Regions from separate parts of the Homo sapiens genome. Here region 2 is linked to region 1. Evidence: promoter capture Hi-C in 16 types of primary human blood cells and fetal thymus (Javierre and others, 2016). All regions are on one chromosome and are shown on one strand. The core of a region is centred on a gene start or on the middle of the fragment in contact, and the rest is flanking DNA. Distances in the headings are between cores, read along the strand shown. Region 1 holds the start of TAS1R1 (taste 1 receptor member 1). Region 2 has its middle 5.9 kb from the start of CAMTA1-DT.

What was found. The method cuts DNA at HindIII sites, captures the fragments that hold promoters and counts their contacts. A CHiCAGO score of 5 or more calls a contact.
Region 2: a fragment that was not itself captured here is called in contact with the fragment with the promoter of TAS1R1 in region 1 in 1 of 17 cell types (neutrophils); the score reaches 5.3 in neutrophils.

The regions. Positions count from the first base shown.
Region 1 is chr1:6,552,146-6,558,389 of GRCh38, reverse strand. It overlaps TAS1R1 (taste 1 receptor member 1), which reads right to left and starts at 3,083. Exons shown (of 6, transcript NM_138697.4): 1 at 2,826-3,083. The coding sequence starts at 3,016. NOL9 (nucleolar protein 9) reads left to right here and starts at 3,877. Exons shown (of 12, transcript NM_024654.5): 1 at 3,877-4,283. The coding sequence starts at 3,888. RefSeq lists a silencer at 3,912-4,171 and an enhancer at 5,566-6,066. The HindIII fragment of the contact is 19,423 bases long and covers 1-3,588 here.
Region 2 is chr1:6,776,250-6,782,000 of GRCh38, reverse strand. No RefSeq gene overlaps it. Among named protein-coding and RNA genes, the nearest start is that of CAMTA1-DT, 5.9 kb to the left of the region's middle. The HindIII fragment of the contact is 1,738 bases long and covers 1,559-3,296 here.

The DNA of each region.
Region 1 (6,244 bases), core at 1,834-4,333:
TTGACTACACAACTCTAGGCACTATAGCCTAGACAATCTGACACGCAAAATTCACCACCACGGCTCACACCTATAATCTTAGCACTCTGGGAGGCCTAGCACTGTGAGAGGACTGCTTGAGCTCAAGAATTTGAGACCAGCTTGGGCAATGTAGTGAGACCCTGTCTCTATAAAAAATTTAAAAAATTAGCGGTAAGTGGTGGCATATGCCTGTAGTTCCAGCTAGTAAGGAGGCTAGGGCCTCACTGAGGCCCAAGCAAAGCTGCAGTGAGCTATGATTGTACCACTGGACTCCAGTATGAGCAAAAGAGGAAGACCCTGTCTCAGAAAAAAAACAAAAACAAAAACAAAAACTAACCACTACACCTGCTTAACCTTGTTTAATTAGTGCTTCTCACCAGGACACTTATGAATGTGTTGAGGGCCTATATGCCTTATCACCCCTACTTCAGCAACTCCTGTCTGGAGCCCACCAGGAATGAGCCAGGGACAGGATTCAGCCCCGTTTAAAGAGCAGGCTAAGCCAGGTGCAGTGGCCCATGCCTGTAGTCCTAGCTACTCAGGAGGCTGAGGATGGAGGATTGCTTGATCCCAGGAGGTGGAGACTAGCCTGGACAACATAGTGAGATCCCAGCTCAAAAAAACTTTTTTGTAATGGCTGGCCCAGTGGCTCACCTAGAATCCCAATGCTGTGGGAGGCCCAGGCAGGAGAATCACTTGAGACCAGGAGTTTGAGACCAGCCTGAGCAACACAGTGAGACCACCTTCTCAACAAAAAATTAAAAAATTAGCCAGGAGTGGTGGTGCATGCCTGTAGTCCCAGCTACTTGGGAGGCTGGGGCAGGAGAATCACTTGAGCTTCAATGAGGCCCAAGTAAGGCTGCAGTGAGCTATGATTGCACCACTACACTCCAGCCTGGGGGAAAGAGCAAGACCTCATCTCTATAAATAAACAAATAAACAAACAAATACATAAAGTGTGCTAGCCTGTTCCATTTTCCAGCCTCTTGCTTGTTAGAAGGTCTTCCATGGTTTCTACCACTTCTGTCCCGAGTCTCTCAACGGAGGGTTCGTGCCTCCTGCCTGAGACAATTCTTCAGGTATCTGAAGCCGGTTTTCATGTCTTCCCTCCTCCTGCTCTACCCAATCTCTCTTCCCAGCCCATTCTCTTTATCTCTTTATCCAGGTTTCTAGCTGTAGCCCTTCGAGTAGGTCGTCATACACTAGATTTCCAGAAACTTCTTCCTGAGCCAACCATCTCGTGTGCTTCATGGGTAGGACATCCTGCAGCCAAGCCTCGGCAGCATTCTTGGGCCTCTGGGTCTGTGACTTCCACAGTCTGCAAGCAACTGTCTTCGTCTTTTTTTTTTTTTTTTTTTTTGAGATGGAGCCTCGCTCTGTCGCCCGGGTTGGAATGCAATGGTGTGATCTTGGCTCACTGCAACCTCCACCTCCGGGTTCATGCGATTCTCCTGCCTCAGGCTCCTGAGTAGCTGGGATTACAGGTGCACACCACCACACCCGGCTAATGTGTTGTATTTTATGTAGAGACAGGGTTTCACTATGTTGGCCAGACTGATCTTGAACTCCTGACCTCGTGATCCGCCTGTCTCAGCCTCCCAAAGTGCTGGGATTACAGGCGTGAGCCACTGTGCTCGGCTGCAACTGTCTTCTTTAAAAGAAAAGCAGGCCGGGCGCGGTGGCTCAAGCCTATAATCCTAGCACTTTGGGAGGCCGAGGTGGGCGGATCACCTGAGGTCGGGAGTTCGAGACCAGCCTGACCAACATGGTGAAACCCCTGTCTCTACGAAAAATACAAAAATTAGCTGGGTATGGTGACACATGCCTATAATTCCAGCTACTCCCGAGGCTAAGGCATGAGAATCACTTGAGCCCAGGAGGAGGAGGTTGCAGTGAGTCAAGATTATGCCACTGCACTCCAGCCTGGATGACAGACTGAGTCTCCATCTCAAAAAAATATAGATAGATAGATAGATAGATAGAAATAAAAGAAAAGCAGTAGTTTCCCTCTACCTAGATTGTTGACTTCATGATGGCACCAACCTAATTTATATTTGTCAAGCTCCTAAAGCATCTAATGGGATGTGTCTTCCCTTCCCACCCCATGAAGAACCATGGAGAATCCTACTTGTCATCTGGGACTCTAGGGAACTTTGAACATGGGTAGGAGTGGAGAGAAGATAGAAGAGGGAAAAAGCGGCTGGGCGCGGTGGCTCACGCCTGTAATCCCAGCACTTTGGGAGGCCGAGGTGGGCAGATCACGAGGTCAGGAGATCGAGACCATTCTGGCTAACACGGTGAAACCCCGTCTCTACTAAAAATACAAAACATTAGCTGGGCGCAGTGGCGGGTGCCTGTAGTCCCAGCTACTCGGGAGGCTGAGGCAGGAGAATGGCGTGAACCCGGAAGGCGGAGCTTGCAGTGAGCTGAGATCGCGCCACTGCAGTCCCACCTGGGTGAAAGAGCGAGACTCCGTCTCAAAAAAAAAAAAAAAAAAAAAAAGAAGAGGGAAAAAGCTGCCCTTGCTTAGGCCTGGCCACCTAGGTATGGTACAAAGCCAAGAACCAATTTCAATGAAGTTACAATACAACACATTCTAACAGCAAGGGTGAAATAATTGGAAACTGGCCGAAGTGTCTAGGAAGGTCTAGCCAGCACTTAGGTGGCAAGTGGATTGATGAACAAGGCCTGGGGACAGTTCAAGGGGCAAAGGCAGAGGCAAGGTCCTGTTTGGAGGATGGCAGCCAGAGGGGCCCTATAGCCAGGGGTCCCACTAAGTGTGGCTCTGCTGGCCCCTCACTCACCTGTCACACAGGGTCACCTCGGGTCTGTGCCTCACCTGCAGACAGCCAGAATGGAGAGGGAACAGGCCTGCCAGGAGGTAATCTCCGGGGAGGGTGAAGTCAGGAGAAGACTCCGTGCTATGGCAGGCAAAGGCCCAGCAGCAGGAAATGAGAAGCTGCAGGCCGACCAGGCGAGCCGTGCAGAGCAGCATGCTGGCCAGATGCCCGCGCCTGGCATGGCCAAGGAGTGGCCTCTAAGGAGGCCAGTTGCTTAAATAGAAGGCAGCTGCCGGATGCTTCCTAACTTCAGGCCCCCAAAAGGGGTGGGACTGGAGCCCAGTGGCTGAAGCAGGACTGTTTGCCTTGACATTCCGGGCCTGCGGTCCCACTCAGGAACTGGGCAGGACGAAGGCACAGATGCAAACCAGGTGGCACCCAGTGACCCTTCCTCTGGACGGTTGTGGGTTCTGTCCACGCTCTGTGACTTCACCTGGCTTAGAAAAGGAGCTCTGGCATTTTGGGGCGAGGTGGGAGGCTGGAACACAATTTCTCCGGGTGTTGCGAGGTTTCAGAACTTTTTACCTGGGCCTCAGTTTACTAAATGAGACACAGCTTTGAGTCGACACCCCCCTGCCCCAGTCTCCAGTTTTCTGACATTAAGATTCTGAGCAAATTGTCATATACTTTCGCCTTGTTACCCAGGGTTGCTCACTTCGAAACAAATGCATGCAAACCGAAGGTATGCAAATAGACATGTTTTGTTTAAACTGCCAATCCTAAAGCTTTTTCTGCAGGAGAAAAAAAATATCCCGGTGTTTTTCCGGAGAGGTGGCCCATGGCTGGTCGCGAGGTTTCTGGCTTTCTCTCTCCGGCCGGCTGGGGTAGGGAATTTGCGTAACGTAAATGGAGTCCTCCGTGGAGCCCCTCGACCAGATCGGCTGGAACCTCCTAGTGTGCTTCCGGAGGTTGCCGGCAGAGGGCGCCGGCGGCTCGGAGGCCCCTCTTTTCGGCAGCTGGGAGGGCAGCGGGGCGGACCGACGGGATCTCGCGAGATTCTCGCGCGGTAGGCCCTGAGGACCCAGCATGGCGGACTCGGGACTGCTGCTAAAGCGGGGTTCCTGCCGTTCCACTTGGCTGCGGGTCCGCAAGGCCCGGCCCCAGCTCATCCTCAGCCGCCGGCCCCGCCGCCGGCTCGGGAGCCTGCGCTGGTGCGGTCGGCGGCGCCTACGGTGGCGGTTACTGCAAGCCCAGGCGTCCGGCGTGGACTGGAGGGAGGGAGCCCGCCAGGTGTCGCGCGCGGCGGCGGCCCGGAGACCCAACACCGCGACCCCCAGCCCGATCCCTAGCCCGACCCCGGCCTCCGAACCCGAGTCCGAACCCGAACTCGAATCCGCCTCGAGTTGCCACCGGCCTCTCCTCATCCCACCGGTGCGGCCCGTGGGCCCCGGCCGCGCGTTGCTGCTGCTGCCGGTCGAGCAGGTAGGTGGGGGGCGCCGGTAGTAGTCCCCGAGGGCAGGGAGGGCTGGAGAGGCAGCCCCGGGAGAGCTGCAGGGTAGGAGAGGACCGTGGTCCCCCGGGCCTGTTCTCTGGCTGCCAGTCGGATTCAAGTCCATCCTCTTGATGGTTGGTGGCAACTAGGCTCCCCTGAGCAGCAGGGTAACAGGTACCCTGCTAAGGGGTCCCTAGGCCTTACGAGCTAAAGGGACTTTATTTTGTTTTGTTTTCTTTCTTTCTTTTTCTTTTTGAGACAGAGTCTCACTCTGTCCCCCAGGCTGGAGTGCAGTGGCACAATCTCGGCTCACTGCAACCTCCGCATCCCGGGTTGAAGCGATTCCCCTGCCTCAGCCTCCGGAGTAGTTGGGACTACAGGCGCGTGCCACCTCGCCCGGCTATATTTTTTGTATTTTTAGTAGAAACGGGGTTTCGCCATGTTAGCCAGGATAGTCTCGATCTCCTGACCTTGTGATCCACCCGCCTCGGCCTCTCAAAGTGCTGGGATTACAGGTGTGAACCACCGCACCTGGAACTCTGAAAGGGATTTTAATAGTTAAAAAAAAAAAAGGTTGCAATTACTGAGAGCTCAGAAATTCCAGGATTTAAGGGTTCCAAAAGTGTTTTAGGCTTTGAACCCATTTAAACATCCAGCTCTCTTACGGAGTAGTTGTCCCTCTCTCTAAGTGTTTACAGACGAGGAGACTGAGGTTGGGTAACTTACACAGTAGAGGGAGAGCTAGGAGTCGAACTCAGGCAGCCTGATTCTTAACGTGGATGCCATTCCTGGAGATTCCCTGTCTAATGCAGGAGGGAAGGCAAAACCCAGGAAGTTCTGGAAGAGACTTGGCAAGCTGTGGGTCTTTAAAAGGACAGAGTGGTAGAGTCTGTCTGAACCAGGAGCACAGAGCCGAGTTCACGGTCACCATGCTTTCTCTGTAGCTGCCATGGGGTATGATCTTAGTTTAAAAATATAAAGTATGGGCCAGGCGCGGTGGCTCAGGCCTGTAGTCCCGGCACTTTGGGAAGCCGAAGCTGGCAGATCATCTGAGGTCAGGAGTTTGAGACCAGCCTGACCAACATGGTGAAACCTCATCTCTACTAAAAATACAAAAATTAGCTGGGCATGGTAGCACACGCCTGTAATCCCAGCTACTCAGGAGGCTAAGGCAGGAGACTTGCTTGAACCCGGGAGCTGGAGGTTGCAGTGAGCCAAGATCACGCCATTGCACTCCAGCCTGGGCGACAGAGTGAGACTCCGTCTCGAAAGAAAGGAAGAAAGGAAGGAGGGAGGGGAAAAGAAAGAAAGGAAAAGGAAAAGAGAGAGCTGGGCACAGTGGCTCACGCCTGTAATCCCAGCACTTTTGGAGGCTGAGGTGGGTGGATCACCTGAGGTAGCGAGTTCGAGACCAGCCTGGCCAATATGGCGAAACCCTGTCTAGTGGCTCACGCCTGTAATCCCAGCACTTTTGGAGGCCTAGGTGGGCGGATCACCTGAGGTCAGGAGTTTGAGATGTGGTGGCACACGCCTGTAATCCCAGCTACTCTGGAGGCAGAGGCAGGAGAATTGCTTTAACCTGGGAGGTGGAGGTTGTGGTAAGCTGATACTGTCCCAAAAATAAATAAATAAATAAAAATTAAATAAAATTAAAAAATTTAAAAGGCTGCAGCCATAAAAAGGGATGAGATCATGTCCTTTGCAGGGACTTGGATGGAGCTGGAAGCCGTTATCTTCAGCAAACTAATTCAGGTACAGAAAATCAAATATCGGCCGGGTGTGGTGGCTCACGCCTGTAATCCCAGCACTTTTAAGTTCCAGGGTACATACGCAGGGTGTGCAGATTTATTACGTAGTTAAATGGGTGCCTTGGTGGTTTGCTGCACAGATCAACACATCACCTATGTATTAAGCCCAGCATCCATTCTTCCTGACGCCCTTCCCCAGACCC
Region 2 (5,751 bases), core at 1,178-3,677, 220 kb before region 1:
CAACACTGCACTCTGTGTGCAGTGTTTTCCAGAGGCTGCAAGATACGTGATCTCACAACAGGCTGAATGCAGAAGATTCAGAAGCAGAGAAGAATCCAGCAGTCTTCTACTGTCAGATATTAAAGTGATTTGCAAAACTAAAACAATCTCACACTTACCACTAATTTTATTTTAGAAAATGTAGGTATTTCTCATAAAAATAGGATTTATGTTGACATGTAATGGGTTTATTCTCTTTTTTGTTGTTCTTTTGAGATAGGGTCTCACTCTGTTGCCCAGGCTGGAGTGCCGTGCAATCAAGGCTCACTGCAGCTTTAACCTCCTGGGCTCAAGCAATTAGCCTCTTGAGTAGCTAGGAATACAGGTGGGCGCCACCATGCCCACCTGTATTTTTTGTAGAGATGAGGTTTTGCCACGTTGTCCGTGATGGTCTCCAACGGAGTCTTACTCTGTTGCCCAGGCTGGAGTGCAGTGGCACGATCTCGGCTCACTGAAACCTCTGCCTCCCGGGTTCAAGCGATTCTCCTGCCTCACCTCTTGAGTATCTGGGATTACAGGCACCCGCCACCATACCTGGCTAATTTTTGTATTTTTAGTAGAGACGGGGTTTCACCATGTTGGTCAGGCTGGTCTCAAACTCCTGACCTCGTTATCCGCTGGCGTCAGCCTCCCAAAGTGCTGGGATTACAGGCGTGAGCCACCGCGCCCAGCTTGAATCCTTAAATTTTAAGTGTGGAAAAAGATCTTGAGACTCAAGAGTTTGGGAACCACTGGGCTAGAGAATGAGATCTTTTTGGGGCTGGCTGGTTGGTGTTTCTGTTTGCTTGGGAGGGTAACCAAGAGATGGGCATTTCAAGTAAAGGAAGCAGCTTGCATTACTAAATGAGCCCATTTAGAAAAGAGAGTTGGAAGATAACGCTCGATGTACCAATCTCGGAATCCTTGCCCATTTTGGCCCTAATGTCCTTCAAGGAAAGAATTTTACTGTCCAGAAACAGAACATATAAGGGAAATAGTGGGAATATTAAATTGTTACTTTTTGACCCCAAAGAGGTGCAAAAGAGGCTTCTTCCTGGTCAGCTTTCCAAAGTAAAGTGGCTGTTTATATTACTGGTGGTGATAAAAATAAAAGTGCTTGGACTTGCTTCCTTAAATTGGAAGTTACCGAAGCTTCCATATTACTGGATTGGGAGAGGAAAGCATGGAGTAAACCCATTTCAGAAGCTTAAACACTTAGAAGCTCAGGCCGGGCACAGTGGCTCACACGTGTAATCCCAGCACTTTGGGAAGCCAAGGCGGGTGGATCACGAGGTTAGGAGTTCAAGACCAGCCTGGCCAAGATGGTGAAACCCCATCTCTAACTAAAAATAAAAATTTAGCTGGGCATGGTGGCACGCGCCTGTAATCCCAGTTACCGGGGAGGCTGAGGCAGGAGAATTGCTTAAACCTGGGAGGAGGAAGTTGCAGTGAGCCAAGATTATGCCACTGCACTCCAGCCTGGAAGACAAAGCGAGACTCCGTCTCAAAAAAATAAAAGAGAAGCTCATCATCCCAAGCTTATTTTACCCCTGCACAGGGCAACAAAAAACCTGTGCCTCCTTTAGCCACCAAGGGGCTGCATGGTTAAAAGTAATAATATTCAAAAGTTCCATTTCCAAAAAGTTTCTCCCCTTGTCTTTAACTATTTTTTTAATTTTGAGATAATTAGATTCACATGCAGTGATAAGAAATCATACAGAGAGCTCCTATGTCCCCTTACCTTTTCAAGATGAAACAATGAAAACTTGTGGACTTTGTTGGAACCAACCCTTCACCAGATGGTCCCTGTTTTCCTATCCTGCAAATGGTCACCTTTCCTCTTCTCTGCATCCCAATTACGTCAGGCATTATAATCTCAGAATGTCTACTGTTAATATGCAAGAGTAAAGATTTGTTGGATACCCCAAATATAATGAGATATTTGGGCCTAGTAGGCCTGAATTTCAACTTACTTGAAATATCGGCCAGGTGAGATGGCTCATGCCTGTAATCCCAACGCTTTGGGAGGTCGAGCTGGGCAAATCACTTGAGGCCAGGAGTTTAAGACCAGCCTGGGTAACATGGCAAAACCCTATCTCTACTAAAAATATAACAGTTAGCAAGGCGTGGTGGCGCATGCCTGTAGTCCCAGCTACTCAGGAGGTTCAGGTACAAGAATCGCTTGAACCCAGGAGGCAGAGGTTGCAGTGAGCCAAGATCCAGCCACTGCACTCCAGCCTGGGTGACAGAGCAGACGTCTGTCTCAAAAAATAAAAATAAAAAAATATCATTTGAACACGAAAGGGAAAGGCTTTGTGGCCCAGGAATCTGTTGAAATTTTGAAATGAATCTGTAGTTTCATTTGTTCAGTATTTACTGACAGCAGTAGGTCTGAGAACCAACCACACCACGAATGACAGTTTTGTTTTCCTTTTAGCAATTAAAACCTAGAACAGACCATTATCTTTTTTCATTGGGGTTTCAGGAGATATTATTTAAGCAATAGTTATAATCATAATACTTGCCCTCATCATCCAGCTATTACATAAAACACGCCCAAGTGCACTTGCTCTCCAGAGACCCTCCTTGGAGTGATACCTAAATGCCTTCAGTGGAATGTATCTCACCTTCATACACTACTTTTAAGAATCAGTCCAGTTTTTTCTGGACTTTCCCTTTGAAACTGGAGGCTTTCCACTCCCTCTTGAGCCTTCTGGTATTACAGCCTGATAGTTTTTATTGCATTTGAACCCATGATCAAAGAAATGGTTCTTTTCTTTTTGTTTTGGTTTTTCTTTGGTGGAAGGGGACAGAGTTTCACTCTGTCACCCAGGCTGAAGTGCAGTGGCACGATCTCGGCTCACTGCAACCTCTGCCTCATGGGTTCAAGAGATTCTCCTGCCTCAGCCTACCGAGTAGCTGGGACTACAGGCGTGTGCCACCACGCCCAGCTAATTTTTGTATTTTTAGTAGAGACGGGGTTTCACCATGTTGGGCAGGATGGTCTCGATCTCTTGACCTTGTAATCCTCCCACCTCGGCCTCCCAAAGTGCTCACCCCTCACAGGTGTGAGCCACCACGCCCGGCAGAAATGGATCTTTTCTAAAGGGAGAAAAGGTTGGAGAGATTGGGCTTTGCTGGTTCAGATGGACAAATACAAAGAACTTCCTGACCACGGACATTAATGCATTTCGTAGACCAGGATCACCCCTCTACTTCCTGAGACCCAGAGAGACCTCAGTAGTGGAACCCCCCGAAATCTCTGTATAGAGAAAGCTTGGGGCAGTAATCTGATTGGAGGGAGGGGCCAGGGGACTCTAGCATCTGCACAGCAAACCCACTTGCACTCCATGCAGCTTAGGGAGATTGTAAGACTGCTCAAGTCAAGTTTTGTTTTTTTGTTTTCTTATTTACGCCACACTTTCAAATGTAGTTTCTTTTGACTCTCAGTCTTCCCAGGAAACTTTGTTTAGTTGTTGAAAGTAAAATGACCTATCAAAGTGCCTGACGGGAAACGCTGCTGAGTTGTCCCATCATAGTCTTTGGAAACCACTGAGGAGCACCCAAGGAAAACCAGACCGCTACCATCTACGGGTATAAATGAAAAGGGTGTGGGCGCAGAGGCATTTCACCATCATTAGGCTTTCCATTTTTCAAACTGGACAAGCAATTTATTTTTTCTTTAAGTATTAAGCTGTGGGATATTATGCAGCCATTTAAAAAATGGAGGTATGGCCAGGTGCGGTGGCTCACGCCTGTAATCCCAACACTTTGGGACGTCAAGCCGAGCAGATCACTGGAGGTCAGGAGTTTGAGACCAGCCTGGCCAACATGGCAAAACCCCGTTTGTACTAAAAATGCAAAAATTAGCTGGCATGGTGACATGCACCTGCAATCCCAGCTACTCAGGAGGCTGAGGCACAATTGCTTGAACTGGAAGGCGGAAGTTGCAATGAACCGAGATCACACCACTGCACTCCAGCCTGCACTCCAGCCTGGGCAACAGAGCGAAACTGTCTTAAATTTAAAAAAAAAAGAAGTAAAGGTAACTCAGTGTGTGCTGCTATGAAAAGATCTCCAGCTTAAACGTCTAACTGAAAGAAGGTAAGCCACACAACATAATGTACATTATTTTCCTCTGGATGTGAAAAATGGATACAAGGTTTATTGTATATATATTCTTCTATATGCAGAAAAGATTTCCAGAAGGACAACAGGAAATCTATTACCTCTGAGGATGGAGCAGAAAAAAAAAACCCTTACTCTTCATTTGATATGGTTTAAATGTTTTTACCATATGCATCTATCCAACAAATAATTATTGGGTGCCTATGACATACCAGATACTAATTCTAGGTGCGGGGAATACAGCAGTGAACAAAACAGACAAAAATCTCTGCCTTTGTGGAGCTCATGTGGAGGTGGGAGAGACAAACAAATATACATTTGAACTTTAGATAATGATAAATGCTTGAAGAAAAATAATGTGAAAGGGTGAGATGATGAGAAGGTTTTTTTTGTTTGTTTTTTTTTGTTTTTTTTGTTTTGAGATGGAGTCTCGCTCTGTCACCCAGGCTGGAGTGCAGCGCACGATCTCAGCTCACTGCAACCTCCGCCTCCTGGGTTCAAGCGATTCTCCTGCCTCAGCTTCCTGAGTCACTGGGATTACAGGCGCACGCCACCACACCCGGCTAATTTTTTGTATTTTTAGTAGAGATGGGGTTTCACTATGTTGGCCAGGCTGGTCTCAAACTCCTGACCTCAGGTGATCCGCCCGCCTTGACCTCTCAAAGTGTTGGAATTACAGGCATAAGCCACCGTGCCCAGCCAAGAAGGCTATTTTAGAAGAGTGAGTCAGGAAGTTCTCTCCGAGACCTGAAGGAAGTGAGAGTGAGCCACGCGGTTATGGGTGGGGTGGCAGGTGCACAGTCAGTGTCCTGTAGGAACTGCAGGGAGGTGTGGAAGGACTGCTGACATGTGAATCCAGGGAGGAATCAGCAGGCCACACAGGACCTCCAACTCCATGGCAAAATATTTGGATTTAACTCTGAGGGTGCTAGGAAAACAATGTAAGGTATTTAGCTGGGAATGTTATCTCCCTGGTGTTTTAAAAGGATCGCTATGCCATAATGTGGAGGACAGACTTTAAGGAGGCCAGAGAAGCAGAGAGACTAGTTAGGACATTATTAGACATCAAGACTTGATGGTGGCTTAGATGAGGGGTCTTAGTTCCTTGTGGCTGCTGTAACAAATTACCTTAGTGGTTCCCTTACAGTTCTGGAGGCCAGAAGTTTGAAGTCAGTTTCACTGGGCCAAATGAAGATGTTGGCAGGGCCACACTCCTTCCAAAGGCTCTAGGGAGAATTCATTCCTTGCCTCTTCCAACTGCTAGTGGCTGCCGGCATTCCTTGGCTTGTAGCCACATCACTCCAATTTTCAAGGCTAGCATCTTCAAATCTCTCTCTGCTCCATCTTCACATTGCCCTCTCTCCCCTGTGTATGTGTCAGATCTCCCTCTGCCTCTCTCTAAAGAGGACACGTGATGGCATTTAGGGCCTACCAAGATAATCCAGGATAATCTTCCCATCTCAAGTCTCACTCTGATGTCCAGGCTGGAATGCAGTGGTGTGATCTCAGCTCACTGAAACCTCTGCCTCCTGGGTTCAAGCACTTCTCGTGCCCCAGCCTCCCGAGTAGCTGAGATTATAGGTGTGTGCCATCACGCCCAGCTAA